Regions from separate parts of the Homo sapiens genome. Here regions 2, 3 and 4 are each linked to region 1. The links are contacts of gene promoters, found by promoter capture Hi-C in blood cells and fetal thymus (Javierre and others, 2016). All regions are on one chromosome and are shown on one strand. The core of a region is centred on a gene start or on the middle of the fragment in contact, and the rest is flanking DNA. Distances in the headings are between cores, read along the strand shown. Region 1 holds the start of CPLANE2 (ciliogenesis and planar polarity effector complex subunit 2). Region 2 overlaps ZBTB17 (zinc finger and BTB domain containing 17). Region 3 has its middle 17 kb from the start of UQCRHL. Region 4 overlaps SPEN-AS1 (SPEN antisense RNA 1).

Evidence for each region. The method cuts DNA at HindIII sites, captures the fragments that hold promoters and counts their contacts. A CHiCAGO score of 5 or more calls a contact.
Region 2: a fragment that was not itself captured here is called in contact with the fragment with the promoter of CPLANE2 in region 1 in 1 of 17 cell types (fetal thymus); the score reaches 5.6 in fetal thymus.
Region 3: a fragment that was not itself captured here is called in contact with the fragment with the promoter of CPLANE2 in region 1 in 1 of 17 cell types (activated CD4 T cells); the score reaches 8.6 in activated CD4 T cells.
Region 4: a contact is called between a fragment that was not itself captured here and the fragment with the promoter of CPLANE2 in region 1, in 2 of 17 cell types (non-activated CD4 T cells and naive CD4 T cells). The highest score is 6.2, in non-activated CD4 T cells.

The regions. Positions count from the first base shown.
Region 1 is chr1:16,234,761-16,239,337 of GRCh38, forward strand. CPLANE2 (ciliogenesis and planar polarity effector complex subunit 2) reads right to left here and starts at 2,423. Exons shown (of 5, transcript NM_030907.4): 1 at 1,871-2,423. The coding sequence starts at 1,982. RefSeq lists an enhancer at 1,916-2,460 and a silencer at 2,301-2,480. The HindIII fragment of the contact is 3,895 bases long and covers 1-3,221 here.
Region 2 is chr1:15,956,094-15,960,783 of GRCh38, forward strand. All of the region lies in intron 2 of ZBTB17 (zinc finger and BTB domain containing 17), which reads right to left. It overlaps LOC124903855 (a long non-coding RNA gene), which reads left to right. Exons shown (of 3, transcript XR_007065486.1): 3 at 1-4,690. Among named protein-coding and RNA genes, the nearest start is that of ZBTB17, 18 kb to the right of the region's middle. The HindIII fragment of the contact is 9,724 bases long and covers 1-4,690 here.
Region 3 is chr1:15,822,275-15,826,680 of GRCh38, forward strand. No RefSeq gene overlaps it. Among named protein-coding and RNA genes, the nearest start is that of UQCRHL, 17 kb to the left of the region's middle. The HindIII fragment of the contact is 2,551 bases long and covers 1,226-3,776 here.
Region 4 is chr1:15,838,399-15,842,995 of GRCh38, forward strand. All of the region lies in intron 1 of SPEN-AS1 (SPEN antisense RNA 1), which reads right to left. Among named protein-coding and RNA genes, the nearest start is that of SPEN, 7.0 kb to the right of the region's middle. The HindIII fragment of the contact is 5,451 bases long and covers 442-4,597 here.

The sequences.
Region 1 (4,577 bases), core at 1,173-3,672:
TCGCTTTTGTTGCCCAGGCTGGAGTGCAATGGTGTGATCTCACTGCAACTTCCGCCTCCCGGGTTCAAGTGATTCTCCTGCCTCAGCCTCCCGAGTAGCTGGGATTATAGGCATGCGCCACCATGCCTGGCTAATTTTGTATTTTTAGAGATGGGGTTTCTCCATGTTGGTCAGGCTGGTCTCGAACTCCCAACCTCAGGTGATCTGCCTGCCTCAGCCTCCCAAAGTGCTGGGATTACAGGCGTGAGCCACCGTGCCCGGCCTCATCTGTGGCTCTTAATACTCAACCTAATTTTACAGAAGTCTGGGATACAAAGAGACTAGCCTAAGCATTATAGTCAGTCTGTTGATATTTATTTACTAGCTGCTCTCAGCGTTTGTTGTGGGGCCTGCATGACAACCACTGAATGATACATTCAGGTGCATAAACCCAGCTGTTAAAAAAAAACCCAAATGTCTGCAGTTAAAGTAAAAACACAAAAATTAAAAGCCATCACTGCCATTCCTCTAAGTTATGGCTGCTTAATCCTATCTGTGGCATAGATAATATGGTCAGTGGATTCTATGATGTTCCCAGAAAATCAGCTCAACCTTCACTCAATTCTCTTCCACTCAACACAACTAAATGCAAAATAAATACAATAACAGCCAACCTTCAGTGAACACCCACTGCATGCCAGAACCTGCTTGGTATGTTACAAACACCCTCCTTATTAATTTCCCCAGTAACTCTATGGGGTAAATACTGTGATTATCCCCATTTTACAGAGGTGGGACTTGAGGCTAGAGTTCACTTATTCCCAGCCATACAGCTAGCAGTGGTGGAGCCTGGGTCACTTGCCTGGGTATGTGTGACCCCAAATACAGTGTTGCCAGCCATCATGGGATTAGAGGGACAGTGGCCATATTAGAGGGTCTTTTTTTTTTTTTTTTTTTTGAGACGGAGTTTCACTCTTGTCACCCAGGATGGAATGCAATGGCTCGATCTAGGGTTGCTGCAACCTCTGCCTTCTGTGTTCAAGCGATTCTCCTGCCTCAGCCTCCCAAGTAGCTGGGATTACAGGTGCCCGCCACCACGTCCGGCTAATTTTTGTATTTTTAGTAAAGATGGGGTTTCGCCATGTTGGCCAGGCTGGTCTTGAACTCCTGACCTCAGGTGATTTGCCCACCTCGGCCTCCCAAAGTGCTGGGATTACAGGCCACTGCGCCCAGCCTTCTAGAGGGTCATTTTTTGAATTTAATATAATTTCTTTTAAAAAAACAAACAAACAGTTGACTTATTCACAAATTTTGGTTCTAGCTATCTCACTCTCTGGTCTTAAGTCTTCTGGCACCTTGCTTCTCCTGGCCAGAGCTGGGCTCCACAGCTGATTCCAGGCACCTCTGCCGGCCTGACAGCTGGGCCCTGCCTGGGTGAGTCAGTTTCACCATGGGGAACACCAGCGTCTCATCCCAGAGACAGCAGGACATGGAAGAGGCTCACCTCTATTTATTGGGGTGTGATCTTAGCCAAGTCTGTACCATGTGCTGTTGAGAGGTTAAATGGGCGTGCACTGTGTAACGTGCCCAACAGAGGGCCTGGCACCAGGGGAGTGCTCAATCAACTGCATCTCTGGTGACAGTGGTTGCTGGCAAGGTTTCTGCTGTTTCCATGTTCCTGGCTCTGACGATGGAATTAGCTCTAAGGAGATTTAGGTGTGGGGGTCCCAGAGCTAGGGCTTTCAGTCCCCCAGGCTGAAGACTGCTGAAGACTGCAGTGGAGCAGGCCCTCACTGCCCTGCCTCTCTGCTCTCCTCAGGGAGCAACAGGTGACACTCTTCTCCCCAGGGAAAGACAAGTGGCGGGCTAGAGGAAAGGGGGAGGCACTTACCAAACACCCGCCGGCGGTTCTTGCGCAGAATGCAAGCCAGGTACTCCTTGCCCTCGGCACTCTCGTGCCAGTTTGGGACAACCACCGAACCGGGCACGGGAGGTCTGGCCATGGCTGGGCACCGCGACGGGGTAGGGAGGTGACAGAATGCTGAGAGCAGGGAGTGGGAAGGGGAGTGACAGTACCAAGCCGGGCCTGTGATCCCTCTTAACTGCCCTCTGACTCTCCCGGGGGGCCCCAGAAAGTGCAGTCCCTCAGCCGCCTCTCTCCTTCGCAATGCTCCCTGGGGATAGTCATCCCATTACTGCCCATGGAGGGTATTCACACAGCCCCTCTCCCCTTGTCACCTCCGGGGGTCAGACAGCCCCGCTTCTCCTCTACCTTCTAGATCCCGACTCCCAGGGCTACCTAGCCCTCCCCGTCAGCAGTCCCGGCGGCGAACCGACCTGGGTGCCGAAGGCCCCTTTAAACGCCCACCCGCACTCCCGCCGCCCCAGCCCGCCGGGCCCACTTCCGCCCCGCCTGCGTCCGCCTTCTGCGCGTGCTGGCAGCTCCGGCGCAGGTGCGCGCGGCGCATGTGCGGAGGTTGTTGCCATGGAGACGCCGGAGGTTGGGTTGGGCGGGTTCCGGGAGGCGTTCGTCCCTCCTACAACGTCCGCAGCCTGCGCCGCGCGGTGGCTCTGGACTAGGCCTTTTCCTCTGGGTTGTGGATCCTCTTCTCTATGACTCCGTCCGATCCCTAGTCTTTCTTCCAAAACATCATGAAACCCCCCCTCCAGGAGCCTTTCATGCTTCTCTGTGTCTCAGTTTCCTCTTCTATAACGTGGACGTAACATGTTATTCCCTCCATAGCAGTGCTCCATATGTTTAGTTATGATTGTTGCTATTATTAATATTATTGCTCTATTAATCCTGCTTGGCAGGACCTCTAGATGACTTAAACATCTCTGGCTTCACTGATGGGGACACACACCAGCTCAGAGAGGTCAAGGGACTTGGCTCAAGTTTTAAAAAATGAGTCAGAGGCCCGCTGGATTGTATTTTTCATTCATTCATTCATTCAACAAATACTGAGCACCTAGCTGGGAATACAGTGGCCAACAAGAAGTCCCTGCTCTCCTGGAGCTGACTTTTCAGCTCTGAAACTCTGAGCTCCTCTCCACCGTTCCAGCACTGGACACCAGGCCTGTTACCCAGAAGGTGGGTGCTCAGTAAATGCCCACTGGTTGGAAAGAGTGCAGGTGGGTCATTACTGAGAGTTTGTCTATTACATTTAATTTTTACCATTATCTTTCCGCAATGCCTTCAAGTAGGGCAAATCACTGTTTTGAAAGGAATAATTTAGGAGTTAAGCTTTACCTAAGGCCACCCAAGTGCCAGACAGTGGGGACTTTACAGGGGTCACCTGATTTAATTCTATAAACAAACCTGTGTAAATAGTATTACCCTCTTGTACTGACGAAGACTCTCAGAAACATAACGTGACTTGTCTGAGGTCACACCGCACAGCTAGTCAGTGTGAAACCGACTCAGAACCCACAGCTGGCTGGGTGTGGTGGCTCACGCCTGTAATCCCAGCACTTTGGGAAGCTGAGGCGGGCAGATTGCTTAAGCTCAGGAGTTTGAGACCAACCTGGGCAACATAGTAAGACCCTGCCTCTACAAAAAAAAAAATACAAAAATTAGCCGGGCACAGTAGTGCACGCCTGTAGTCCCAGCTACTTGGAGGCTGAGATGAGAGGATTGCTTGAGCCCGGGAAATGGAGGTTGCAGTGAGCCGAGATCATGCCACTGCACTTCAGCCTGAGTGACAGAGCTAGGCCCTGTCAAAAAAAAAAAAAAAAAAAAAAAAAGAACCCACACTTACCTGACTCTAAAGTACTTATCTGTTCTGCCAGTTTGGGTTTTGTGTTTTTAAAACTTTGCCCCTAGCCACTAGGAGGGCTGTTCCTAGGGAAGCAGAAAGCAGCCAGAGGACTACGAACTCACAGATTTTTAAGGCCCATTATGTCTAAGAGAGGGGATGAGGATGTGTAAGACAAGGTGCTTTCTCTCAACTTGCTCACGCTGTGGCTAGGCAGAAAAACCAGATGAATAACCATTCCTACAGGATTCTGCAGGTGGAATCCTTTGCCCATACTCCCAGGTCACATGGTTCCCATTCCTGCAGCTGTCACATCTGCCCAGTCAGGGAGATTCACAGCTGTCCAGAGCTCTCTCCATGGGCCAGGAGTCACTCAGTGGCAGGGCTCTGATCTGAATTATTTCTGGATTTCCAGACTTCACATCCACCCATCTTTGGCTCGTGGAGGGCTCAGTGAGCGTGTGAGAAAATGAAGCAACTTGGCAGAATGAACGTGCCTGTTAATCTGCAACCCAGAGAAGATGTAAAGTCCTCTTGGGGCCATGTGCGGTGGCTCACGCCTGTAATCCCAGCACTTTGGGAGGCTGAAGCTGGTGGACCACTTGAGGTCAGGAGTTTGAGACCAGCCTGGGTAACATGGCAAAACCTTATCCCTAAAAATATACAAAAAAATGGCTGGGCGCGGTGGCTCACGCCTGTAATCCCAGCACTTTGGGAGGCTGAGGCGGGCAAATCACCCGAGGTCAGGAGTTCAAGACCAGCCTGGCCAACATGGTGAACCCTGTCTCTACTAAAAATACAAAAATTATCTGGCTGTGATGGCAGGCGCCTGTAATCCCAGCT
Region 2 (4,690 bases), core at 1,286-3,785, 280 kb before region 1:
GGGCCTTCCTGCCAAAAAGACAAAATCACGACATCTGGGACTTGGGCAGTACCTGATCATTCCCCAAGGCACACACACCCATCAGCCACAAATACTTCCCAAGTGTCAAGCAATGGCACTGACACCACCTTAAATGACACAGTGTGTCACCTCCTCTCTCCTACCAGTTTAATAAACTCACTGCAAGGTGGGGCTACTTCTTATTTCTTCCTTACAGCTGTTTATAGCACATTACCCAGAACCCTGCTTTCAAGTGGTTACAGATCAAGTAGGGAACAGGCCTGTTGAGAGCAGAGATCCCTGGCTTTTTTGAGAATGACTAACACAATGTCAAAGTATTTCCTAGACCCTTATGAAATGACAGTTGTACTTCTGGTGCTTGTTAACTGATAAAATAATAGAAAAAAGCCACTATGAAAAAGTGAATGTCCATTCCATTAATCACAAAGGCATTTAAGCAACAATTCTATGTACATGGATGAGAAATTTCCCCAATATAGAGAAAATCAGTGGGGTGATACAGCTGCTCATCTACTCATAATTATTGCATTGCCCTTTAGGGGTGCTCAGCCTATAAATTAGGAAACAGATACATAGAGAGAGAGGACTAATGAATTTCACAAATGTCTAATGAGAGTCTACCTTGTGTTTGTCCTAGGTACTATGTTAGAACTTCAAACTGAGTGGGGAAGACAGGTAATAAATGGGTATAATAAACAATGGCAGCTACCAAGTGCTGTGGAGAAACTAAAGCAAGCTGAGCAGATCGAGAGGCAGGGGCTATTTACTATTTAAGAAAGGAGGCGGCCGGGCACAGTGGCTCACGCCTGTAATCCCAGCACTTTGGGACGCTGAGGCGGGTGGATCACGAGGTCAGGAGTTCAAGACCAGCCTGGCCGACATAGTGAAACCCCATCTCTACTAAAAATATAAAAAATTAGCCGGGCATGGTGGTGGGTGCCTGTAATCCCAGCTACTCAAGAGGCTGAGGCAGGAGAATGCTTGAACCTGGGAGGCAGAGGTTGCAGTGAGCCAAGATCGTGCCACTGCACTCCAGCCTGGGTGACAGTGAGAGACTCCATCTCAAAAAAAAAAAAAAAAAGTAAAAATAAAGGAGGCAAGGGGGACCTCAGAGGAGGTGGCATTTAAGCAAAGACCTGAATGAGGTTTAAGAGGGAGCTAGGCCACTGTATGCCCAGGGACCATCACAGACATGAGAAGAGCAGATGCAAAAACCCTGAGGCGGGCATGACTTTGGCACAGGGGCCGGTGTGTGTGGAGAGGAGGAGGTGTGTGGCACAGGGGCCGGTGTGTGTGGAGAGGAGGAGGTGTGTGGCACAGGGGCCGGTGTATCTGGAGAGGAGCAGGTGTGCATGAGAATGACAGCAGCAGGGGCTGAGCTCGCCCAGGGTCTCAGGGACACAGCGGACTTTGGATTTCTTCTAAGTGCACTGGGATGCCTTGGGAGTGACGAAGAGTGACAGAAAAGAGCAGAAGAGTGAGGTTCCTAAAAGGCCCCTCTGACTGCAGTGCAAAGACAGACCGCAAGGAGGCTTAGTAGGGGCCCCAGTTAGGCTACTACAGTAGAGAAGAGACAGCAGTGGCCTCACCAAGGAGGTAGAAAACAGGCGAGAAGAGGTTATATTAGGAATATGTTTTGGCAGAGCCAACACCATTAGCTGATCAAGCAGATGTGCGTTGTGACAGAAGGAAAGGAGTCAAGGATGACACTAAGATCTGTGCCCGGAGACACTGGCCCAGTGGCGGTGCCGCTTCCTGAGAGGAGGAGGAGTGGCAGGAGGAGACTCCGTGGGGGGAATCAGAGTTCTGTTCTGGCCAATTACAGCTGAGATGTCTGCTTGTAGAGACGGTAATTAAAGCCACAAGGTGGAACAAGATATCCATGGAAGCAGGTATTGGATAAACAAGAGAAGAAACCAATGGACTCAGAATCCCAGCTCCAAACTTAACACAGTGACCTCAGGCAAGCATCTCTGAGTTTTAGATTGCTCACCTGTAAAATAGGAAAACCACCATAAATACGAGTGTGCAATGAGACAACTAGCAGATAGGAAGTGTTGCCCAAATATTGGCAAAAGTAGAACTAGATATTACTTCTCTAACACAGCTCTGTGACTGAAACACAGTTAAAACAAAAGGGAAATGATGAACTAATAAAACAAAAACAAACCAGATGATCCCAAGTGACCTCCCTGCACCAGGGGAGCACAGGGCCCCTGTCAAACAGGACAGCAGCTGGCCAAAGCCTTGGGAAGGCGGCTGACGGAAGCTAACAGAGCCACAGCCTGGTCCAATACGACCAAAAAAAAAAAAAAAAAAACACACAGGTGTTGCTTCTCTCTGGCTGCAGCCTTCCACCGTCAGGCCTTTGTTATGGAGCAACTCAGGGCAGAAGGCCTGGGAACTCAATTTCAATATAGAGGGATTCGGGGGTCCAATCTCCATAACTGGTGGGCTGAGGGGATGGTGGAGTGGAGGTTTACTTCAAAGTCCACTGCAAAGTGCCAGGGGCCCTGGGATAAGGCTGGGTCTGAGCCCCAGCCCCTTGACCTTCACTGGGGCAGAAGGACAGTGTGATGAGTGCTGAATGGGGGCTGCCGAAGCGCCAGCCTGGGACGACGTGACCACACCTAAAGACAGACGAAGGCAAGAAAGACCTTTGGGCAGGGGACAGCATAAGCAATGATGGCTGAGGGGCCAGGTGGAGAAGGGGGATCATGCCCCAGCACACAGGAGGGAGGGGACAAAGTGATGGGAAACACAGCTGGAGGGCCAGGCTGGGGCTAGGCACTTGGGCTGGGACCACCACACCAGGCCTCAGTGACAACCTTGGCAGTCAGGAGTCACACTGGGACTTGAAAGGGGGAGATGAAGTCCCACTGGGCTGGACCCTTGGGATAGGAAAAATGGGATGATGTCACCCCCAGGTGGCCCTAGAAGGGTTTAGCTGGTGCCAAGAATCCAACACACACTTACATGATTCTTTCTGGCAGCCTGAACCAGTGGCCTTCCCACTAAATACTATTAAATCCTCTAAAAGTTTTAAGCACCTCTTCTTGGAGTAGCTCAAAGTCTCTTAAAATTTAGTACCTGACCCTTCCCAGTGGAAGGTGGGCCATGCCATTTGTCCAAAACTATGAGCCCAGGCTAAGAATGTACACATTTTACTTATTTTTAAAAGACAACGTCCACATTTCTGTAGGGTATACACAAAACTGGTAAAGAGAAGCCCCTCAGGGGAGCAGGGGAAGTGGGGAAGGAGCTCAACTTTTCACTATATATCCTTTCTGTGCTGTTTCACCACTTGTAAACACTATCTATTAAAAAATTAAAACTGAGAAAGCTAAAGAACAATGGAGAGAAAAAGAGGAGGGAAGGGAAGGAAGAGGGAGGAGAGGGAGGGAGGGAGGGAGGGAGGAAGGGAGGGAGGAGAGGGAGGGAGGAAAGGAGGAAGCAACAGGGAAGAGAAGGAGGAGAGGGAGAGAGTAGACAGAGGGAAGGAGGGAGGAGAGGGAGGAGAGGAAGGGAGGGAGGGAGGTCCCAGCTATCTGGGAGGCTGAGGTGGGAGGATCACTTAAGCCCAGGAGTTTTGAGGCTGCAGCAAGCTATGATCACACCACTGCACTCCAGCATAGGCAACAGAGCAAAACTCTGTCAAAAAATAAAAATAAAAAAGACAGAAAAGAAAGAAAGAAAATAAATGCCTGCAAAGTCAGAGACCTAAGTCCTTTATTTCTATCTATCATAAAATCTTTAAGACATTTTCTACAAGACCTAGTGACTGAAAACTTCTCAAAGGAAAAAATTTCTCATGAGGGAAATGGAAAATTGTGGTAATGTGCACAGAGAATCAATGTATCACTCAGGAAAACAATATGAGCAGAAATTCCTTGAGGGGACGCCCCGAGCACCACAGCTGGTGTCCTCGTGCTCAAACAGAGGAAGCCCCCTGACACTGCGACGACACTGAAGTCCTTCTCCCAGGGACACATGCACACGCAATTCAACACGCAACTGTGGGGGGCTTGCTGCTCCCAGGACCCAGTTAAAACACTCCTACCTCCAAATCCAGCCGAAGCTAGTTAAGTGCCTCAGGCAGGCACTTAACTCTGCACAATCTCTGCAGGCACAATCTCTGCACCTCAATTCCTCTTCTGTAAAATGGAGATGATGACAAAAGTTTCTTCTTCATAAAGCTACTGCTGGCCATCATCATTCTATCATTACATATAAACCCAAGCCAGCAAGGCTGATAAATTATAGAAAACATTTGGCTTGAACTTGTTCTTAATTTTTTAAAAAAGAAAAAAACTATATAGAAAGAAGAGAGCCCAATGCTGTCATCCTTATCCTATCTTCTGAAAACGGATGTAAAAATCTCATCAGTAATCAGGGCACCCATCAAGTTTCAACCTGAAAAAAGACCAGGAAAAGGCCCCCCACACTGCAGTGCTTACTCCACTCGACAGGAATCAGAATCAAAGGCATAAATGCTTAATACTTGATGGTAACCGCCACCTTCTTTCTACAAAGGACACAAGGACTGCAGGAGCAAAGAGGCTCTCACTGAGGAAGAAGAACAATCACAAAGGAAGGGCCGGATGGCCCATGATGCTCTTGAAGATCAAGAATTCAAGCCAAAAGAAAAAAGCAGGTTAAGTAAGAACTG
Region 3 (4,406 bases), core at 1,251-3,750, 410 kb before region 1:
CGGGCCTAGTGGCGGGCGCCTGTAATCCCAGCTACTCCGGAGGCTGAGGCAGGAGAATGGCGTGGACCCGGGAGGCGGAGCTTGCAGTGAGCCGAGATCACACCACTGCACTCTGTGACCTGGGCGACAGAGCGAGACTCCGTCTCAAAAAAAAAAAAAGAAAAGAAATGATTTTTCCTCAGCTGTATTTTAAGTTCCACATCAGTGATTCTTAGGAGGAGTGAGAAAGGTCCCACGAAGTAGGTAATTCAAGGGATATCTCAGAATCCCTCGAAATCCTGATATTCCATTTCAGAAGACAGCTTTCCTCAACCACCCCCAATTTCTCCCTGTCCCCCAGGCTGGAGTGCAGTGGTGTGATCTTAGCTCACTGCAACATCTGCCTCCCAATGCCCCAAAATTGAATCCAATCCCTCAATCACTACCAGTATAAATCAATGTAAATGACAGAAGTATAGTGTGTGCTAGGACAAAGGAAAAACAGGTGAAGACCTTATTCTACATAAGCTGGAGAGCAACATTTCATAAATAATTAGAAAATGTACACTTAACCATATACTACTGCTAGGCTTCATCCAAAGTGACAAATATCAAAAAATAAAAAATTGTGGGCTGGGCGCAGTGGCTCACGCCAGTAATTCCAGCACTTTAGGAGGCCAAGGCGGGCAGATCACCTGAGGTCAGGAGTTCCAGACCAGCCTGGCCAACATGGTGAAACCCCACCTCTACCAAAAATACAAAAATTAGCTGGGTGTGGTGGCACATGCTTATAGTCCAAGCTACTTGGGAGGCTGAGGCAGGAGAATGGCTTGAACCCTAGAGGTTGAGGCTGCAGTGAGCCAAGATCACACCATCACCCTCCGGCCTGGGCGACAGAGTGACAAGACTCCATCTCAAAAAAAAAAAAAAAAAAAAAATTGTTGGCTGGGCACGGTGGCTCACATCTGTAATCCCTACACTTTGGGAGGCTGAGGCAGGGGGATCACCTGAGGTCAGGAGTTCGAGACCAGCCTGACCAACATGGAGAAACCCCATCTCTACTAAAAATACAAAATTAGCCCAGCGTGATGGCGCATGCCTGTAATCCCAGCTATTCAGGAAGCTGAGGCAGGAGAATTGCTTGAATCCTGGAGGTGGAGGTTTCAGTTAGCAGAGATCGTGCCATTGCACTCCTGCCTGGTCAACAAGAGTGAAACTCCATCTCAAAAAAAAAAAAAAAAAAAAAAGCTTCAATAGCTATTAGGCATAAATGTTGCAGGATAAAATATACATGATACTTTATATCTGTATTTAATCACATGTTCCAATAAAGAATGATAAAGTAATACATTGAAAATACAAATTGGCCAAGCACAGTGACTCACGCCTGTAATCCTAGCACTTTGGGAGGCCCAGGTGAGTGGATCATCTGATCTCAGAAGTTGGAGACCAGCCTGGGCAACATGGAGAAGCCCCATCTCTATCAAAAATACAAAATATTAGCCGGGTGTAGTGGCATCACCTGTAGTCCCAGCTACTCAGGAGGCTGAGCCGGATGATTAAAAAAAGAAAATACACATTTTGACTTGTTTTTTTTTTTTTTTTTTTTTTTGAGTGGGAGTTTCACTTTTGTTTTCCAAGCTGGAGTGCAATGGTGTGGTCTCTGTTCATTGCAACCTCTGCCTCCTGGGTTCAAGCAATTCTCCTGCCTTAGCCTCCGGAGCAGCTGGGATTACAGGGGCGTGCCACCATACCCAGGAAATTTTTTGTGTTTTTAGTAGAGATGGGGTTTCACTATGTTGGCCAGGCTGGCCCTGAACTCCTGACCTCAGGTTATCCACCTGCCTTGGCCTCCCAAAGTGCTGGGATTACAGGGGTAAGCCACCGAGCCTGGACTTGACTTTTGATTATATTTATCAGTACATAGAATTCTGAAGGTGAGCTGGGTTGGGTGGCTCATGCCTCTAATTCCAGCACTTTGGAAGCCCGAGGCAGGCAGATCACTGGAGGTCAGAAGCTCGAGACCAGCCTGGCCAACATGGCAAAACCCCTTCTCTACTAAAAAACACAAAAATGAGGCTGGACGCGGTGGCTCACGCCTATAATCCCAGCACTTTGGAGGCTGAGGTGGGCGGATCACGAGGTCAGGAGATAGAGACCATCTTGGCCGACATGGTGAAACCCTGTCTCTACTAAAAATACAAAAATTACTTGGGCGCAGTGGCACGTGCTGGTAATCCCAGCTACTCAGAAGACTGAGGCAGGAGAATCGCTTGAACCTGGGAGGTGGAGGTGGCAGTGGGCCGAGATCACGCCACTGCACTCCAGCCTGGTGACAGAGCTAGACTGTGTCTCAAAAAAAAAAAAAAAAAATTAGCCGCCTGTGGTGGCGCATGCCTGTAATCCCAGCTACTTGGGAGGCTGAGGCAGAAGATTGCTTGAACCTGGGAGGCTGCAGCTATAATAAGCCGAGATTGCACCACTGCACTCCAGCCTGGGTGACAGAGGAAGACTCCGTCTCAAAAAAAAAAAATTTATGAAATTCTGAAGGTGGAGCTTGACCCCAAAGTGATATATCTGTTTTCCTTTTTTTCTTTTTTTTTTGAGACGGAGTCTCACTCTGTCACCCAGGCTGGAGTGCAGTGGCACGATTTCAGCTCACTGCAACCTCCACCTCCTGGGTTCAAGTGATTCTCCTGCCTTAGCCCCACGAGTAGCTGGGATTACAGGCATGAGCTACCACGCCCAGCTAATTTTGTATTTTTAGTAGAGACGGGGTTTCTCCATGTTGGTCAGGCTAGTCTTGAATTCCAGACCTCAGGTGATCTGCCTGCCTCAGCCTCCCAAAGTGCTAGGATTACAGGCATGAGCCACCGCGACCAACCTTAATATTTGTATTTTATTAGAGATGGGGTTTCACCGGGTTGGCCAAGCTGGTCTTGAACTCCTGACCTCAGGCAATCCACCCATCTCGGCCTCCCAAAGTGCTGGGATTACAGGTGTGAGCCACCGTGCCCAACCCACGTTTTCAAATTAAGCACGTAGACAATCTTTTTATTTCACTGTTGTTCACTGGGATGTGGTAGAACTAGAGCAGGGTCCAATATGGGGGAAGAAAGTCTTTTAAAAAGAAAATTATGGCTGGGTGCGGTGGCTCACGCCTGTAATCCCAGCACTTTGGAAGGCCAAGGCAGGTGGGTCATGAGGTCAGGAATTCGAGACCAGCCTGGACAACATGGTGAAACCCCGTCTCTACTAAAAATACAACAATTAAGCGGGTGTGGTGGCACATGCCTGTAATCCCAGCTACTCAGGAGGCTGAGGCAGGGGAACCACTTGAACCTGGGAGGCAGAGGTTGCAGTGAGCAGAGATCAGGCCACTGCACTCCAGCCTGGGTGACAGAGCGTGACTCTGTCTCAAAAAAAAAAAAAAAAAGTAAAGAAAAATACAGCCGGGCACAGTGGCTCACGCCTGTAATCCTAGTACTTTGGGAGACAGAGGCAGCAGGATCTTTTGAGCTGGAGTTCTCCCAGCCAAGAAATAATTTATTATTCATGTTATCATGGAGCAGATATGAGGGTAGAAGGAGACCACATCCTGGGAGTGTAACAATTCCTCCAGAAGCCCTAAGGTTTTGAGTTCCCTCTTGCTGCACTGACCCAGGAACTTCCTAAAACAGAAGGTACTTTCCAACATCACAGTCTCTGGCATCTTCCCCTCTAAGCCTCACTGTCAGACTTTTCCAAAGGTCATACTTACTGTTTTTTTTTTTTTTTTCTTCAATCCATTCCAATCAAGCTTTTGCCTCCTACTCCACCCAGACAGCTTGTGTCAAGGTCACCCATGACTTCCACTTATTCATACAACACTCAATTTTCATGCCTCAGCTTAATCTCTCAGCAGCATTTCATAGTTGACCATTCCCTTCACTTTTTTTTTTTTTTTTTTTTGAGACCGAGTCTTACTCTGTCATCCAGGCTGGAGTGAAGTGGTGCGATCTCGGCTCACTGCAACCTCCGCCTCCCGGGTTCAAGCAATTCTCCTGCTTCAGCCTGTCGAGCCAGCATTCCTGTGCGTCACCATTCCCGGCTAATTTTTGTATTTTTACTAGAGACGGGGTTTCACTATGTTAGTCAGGCTGGTCTCGAACTCTTGACCTCGTGATCTGCCCGCCTCGGCCTCCCAAAGTGCTGGGATTACAGGCGTTAGCCACCGAGCCCTGCCCAAGCCGAGCTAATTTTTTTTTTTTTTTTTTTGAGATGGAGTTTCACTCTTGTTGCACAGGCTGGAGTGCAATGGCACAATCTCAGCTCACCGCAACCTCTGCCTTCCAGGTTCAAGCGATTCTCCTGCCTCAGCCTCCCAAGTAGCTGGGATTACAGGCATGCGCCACCACAACCAGCTAATTTTGTATTTTCAGTAGAGA
Region 4 (4,597 bases), core at 1,917-4,416, 400 kb before region 1:
TGATAGCCTTCTCTGAATTAATCAGAAGTCTTGGCCGGTTTTGGTGGCTCACGCCTGTAATCCCAGCACTTTGGGAGGCTGAGGCAGGGGATCACTTGAGGTCAGGAGTTTGAGACCAGCCTGGCCAACACGGTGAAAACCCGTCTCTGCTAAAAATACAAAATTTAGCCAGGCGTGGTGGCCGGTGCCTGTAATCCCAGCTACTCGGGAGGCTGAGGCACGAGAATTGGTTGAACCCAGGAGGGGGAGGTTGCAGGGAGCCGAGATCGCGACGCTGTACGCCAGACAGGGCGACGGGGGGGAGACTCCGTCAAAAAAAGAAAAAAGAAGTTTTGATTTGCGTTATTTACGTTCTGCTTGTGTCTTGATGTTACAGAAGTTACAATCTCCTAGGCCTGGGTGTTTTGGCTAATGTGATTATCACTTATGGTGAAACAGTTAAGCTTTTTAATAATGGAGATTACCAGTAGGGTCTTAAAAGGTTGAGTGAGGGCCTGGCACCATGGCATTCGCCTGTAGTCCGGTGGTTGGAGGGGGAGGATCCCTTGAGCCCAGGAGTTTGAGGTTGCAGTGAGCTATGATCCTACCCCTGCACTCTAGCAGGAGTGAAAGAATGACACTCTCTCAAAAAGAAAAAAAAAGTTAAATAAAATATCTGAGTTAACATAGAGAGTAATAACATTTTGTTCATGTGGGATTTGTTAATATATATGTAATTTAATGCAGTTAACTATCAACATTTCAGGGGAACCCTTAGCTAAAGTGACCCAGATGCTGACTTCCAAAAGTCATTTATTTTATTTTTTATTGTTTTGAGACGCAGTTTTGCTCTTCTTGCCTAGGCTAGAGTACAATGGTGCAATTTTGGCTCACTGCAATCTCTGCCTCCGAAGTTCAAGCGATTCTCCTGCCTCAGCCTACTGAGTAGCTGGGATTATAGGCATGCACCACTAGGCCTGGCTAATTTTATATTTTTAGTAGAGATGGAGTTTCTCCATGTTGGTCAGGCTGGTCTTGAACTCCCTACCTCAGGTGATCCACCTGCCTTCGCCTCCCAAAGTGCTAGGATTACAGGTGTGGGCCACCGAGAGCGGCCCAAGTCATTTTATTATAACTTTTTAATTTCAGATTATAAAAGCAATACCTGACAGGGCTTGGTGGCTCACTTCTATAATCCCAGCACTTTGGGAGGCTGAGTCTGGAGGATTGCTTGAGACCAGGAGTTTCAGACCAGCCTGGGCAATATGGTCAGACACCATCTCTTTTAAAAAAGACAAAAACTTAGGGGGCCGCACCCAGTGGCTCACGCCTGTAATCCCAGCACTTTGGGAGGCCGAGGCGGGAGGATCACAAGGTCAGGAGATTGAGACCATCCTGGCCAACATGGCGAAACCCCGTCTCTACTAAAAATACAAAAATTAGCTGGGTGTGGTGGTGTGCGCCTGTAGTCCCAGCTACTTAGGAGGCTGAGGCAGGAGAATCCCTTGAACCCAGGAGGCGGAGATTGCAGTGAGCCAAGATTGCACCACTGTACTCCAGCCTGGGTGACAGAGTGAGACCTGGTCTCAAAAAAAAAAAAGCCGGGTGTGGTGGCATGGGCCTGTGGTCCCAGCTACTCAGGAGGCTAAGGCTGGAGGATTGCTTAAGCCCAGGAGGTTGAGGCTGCAGTAAGGTGATCACACCACTGCACTCCAGCCTGGGAAACAGAGCAACCCGATCTCAAAGAATAATAAAATAAAAGTAATACCTGTTAACCAAAGAAAAACTTAGAAAATATAGAGGAATAATTTTTTTTTTGATGGAGTCTTACTCTTTTGCCCAGGCTGGAGTGCAGTAGCTTGATCTCGGCTCACTGCAACCTCTGCCTGCCGGGTTCAAGTGATTCTCCTGCCTTAGCCTCCCAAGTAGCTGTGATCACAGGTGGCCACCACCATGCCCGGCTAATTTTTTTTTTTGTTTGAGATGGAGTCTTACTCTGTTGCCCAGGCTGGAGTGCAGTGGCGCGATCTCGGCTCATGGCAACCTCCACCTCCCAGGTTCAAGCAATTCTCCTGCCTCACCCTCCTGAGTAGCTGAGACTACAGGAACTCGCCACCAAGCCCGGCTAATTTTTTGTATTTTTAGTAGAGACGGGGTTTCACCGTGTTAGCCAGGATGGTCTCTGTCTCCTGACCTCATGATCCGCTCGTCTCGGCCTCCCAAAGTGCTGGGATTACAGGTGTGAGCCACCGTGCCAGGCACTTGTATTCTTTTTTTTTTTCGAGATGGAGTCTTGCTCTGTCACCCAGGCTGGAGTGCAGTGGCATGATCTCAGCTCACTGCAACCTCTGCCTCCCGGGTTCAAGCGATTCTCCTGCCTAAGCCTCCCAAGTAGCTGGGATTAGAGGTACACGCCACCCTGCCCAGATAATTTTTTTTTTTTTTTAGAGACAGAGTCTTGCTCTGTTGCCCAGGCTGCAGTGCAGTGGTGTGATCTTGGCTCACTGCCACCTCTGCCTCCTGGGTTCAAGCAGTTCTCCTGCCTCAGCCGCCCGAGTAGCTGGGATTACAGGTGTGAATCACTGTGCCCGGCCTTAATTTTTGTATTCTTATTAGAGACGGGGTTTCCCCATATTGGCCAGGCTGGTCTCAAACTCTTGACCTTGTGTTCTATCCACCTTGGCCTCCCAAAGTGTTGGGATTACAGGCGTGAGCCACCGCGCCCGGCCCTAATTTTTGTATTTTTAGTAGAGACGGGGTTTCACCATGTTGGCCAGGCTGGTCTCGAACTCCTGACCTCAGGTGATCCACTGGCCTCAGCCTCCCAAAGTACTGTGATTACAGGCATGCGCCATTGCTCCCAGCCAGGAATAAAATTTTTTTAAAAAATTCAAATTCTACCACATAGGCATTAACCATGATTAACATTTGCAAATATCTTTCCAGTCTATTTTCCACTCAATTACACAAATATTGGTAAACTGCATTAGTAATTCTTAGTATTAAGTATATTGCCAGTATTTCCTCACAGGGGGAAAAATGTTACTTTTAGCAACTTTCCAGAAATAAACAATGGTAGAAACTTAAGAACTGATTTAAAAATATATCAGCCAGTATATTCATTTCTGAAAAACTAAAAATAACACGGAATAAATTATTTAGCTTTCTTAGAGGGTTGAACAGTAAAGTACCATATGAAGTGTTTTTTTTTTTTATCGGAGTCCACTCTGTTGCCCAGGCTCACTGCAACTTCTTCCTCCCAGGTTCAAGTGATTCTCCTGCCTAAGACTCCTGAGTAGCTGGGATTACAGGTGCATGCCACCATGCCCAGCTAATTTTTGTATTTTTAGTAGAGACGGGGTTTCACTATATTGGCCAGGCTAGTCTGGAACTCCTGACCTCAGGTGATCCACCTGTCTGGGCCTCCCAGAGTGCTGGGGTTACAGGCGTGAGCCAACCGTGCCTGGCTCTGTTATAAAGTATTAGCTTGCTTAAAGAATGGATCTGCGCTGGGTGCAGTGGCTCACACCTATAACCCCAGCACTTTGGGAGGCCAAGGCTGGCAGATCCCTTGAGTTCGGGAGTTCAAGACCAGCCTGGGCAATATGGAGACGCCTCTACAAAAAAATACCAAAAACAATTAACTGGGCCTGGTGGTGTGCGCCTGTAGACTCTGCTACTAGGTGGGAGGATGGCTTGAGCCTGGGAGGCAGAGGTTGCAGTGAGCTAAGATTGCACCACTATACTCCAGCCTGGGCGACAGAGGGAGACCCTGTCTCAAAAAAAAAAAAAAAAAAAAAAAAAAGAACTAGAGGACTAGCTAGCTAATATTTTCAATTCTTTGGAGTTCTGATAATTTATTTATTTATTTATTTATTTAGAGATGGAGTTTCGCTCGTTGCCCAGGCTGGAGTGCAATGGCGCGATCTTGGCTCACTGCCGAGATCAAACACCCTTTAATAATATTACAGTGGTGTTGCGTTTTATTTTCTGTTATTTTGGGGAAAAAATTTGGTTCTAATAGTACGAGTTTGTTGGTATTGTCAAATTCTCATGTGGTTGGGGCTTTGTTCATTTTATAGCTAGTTAATATTATATTATTTTATTTTATTTTATTTACTTATTTTTTGAGATGCAGTCTCACTGTCGTCCAGGCTGGAATGCACTGGCACGATCTTGGCTCACTGCAACCTCTGCCTCCTGGGTTCAAGCAATTGTCTGTCTCAGTCTCCCGAGTAGCTGGGATTCTAAGCGCCCGCCACCACACCTGGCTAATTTTTTTGTATGTTTAGTAGAGATGGGGTTTCACCATCTTGACCAAGCTGGTCTTGAACTCCTGACCTTGTGATCCACCCGCCTCGGCCTCCCAAAGTGCTAGGATTACAGACATGAGTCACTGTGCCTGGCCAGTTATATGATTTTATATGATGCCTTTTATATATTTTATATGATGCCTTTAAGAAGAAATACGCAGGTGGATCTCCTGTGGTCAGGAGTTCCAGACCAGCCTGGCCAACATGGTGAAATCCTGTGTCTACTAAAAATACAAAAATTAGCTGGGTGTGGTGGTGTGCACCTTAGTCCTAGCTACTAGGGAGTCTGAGGTGGGAGGATCGTG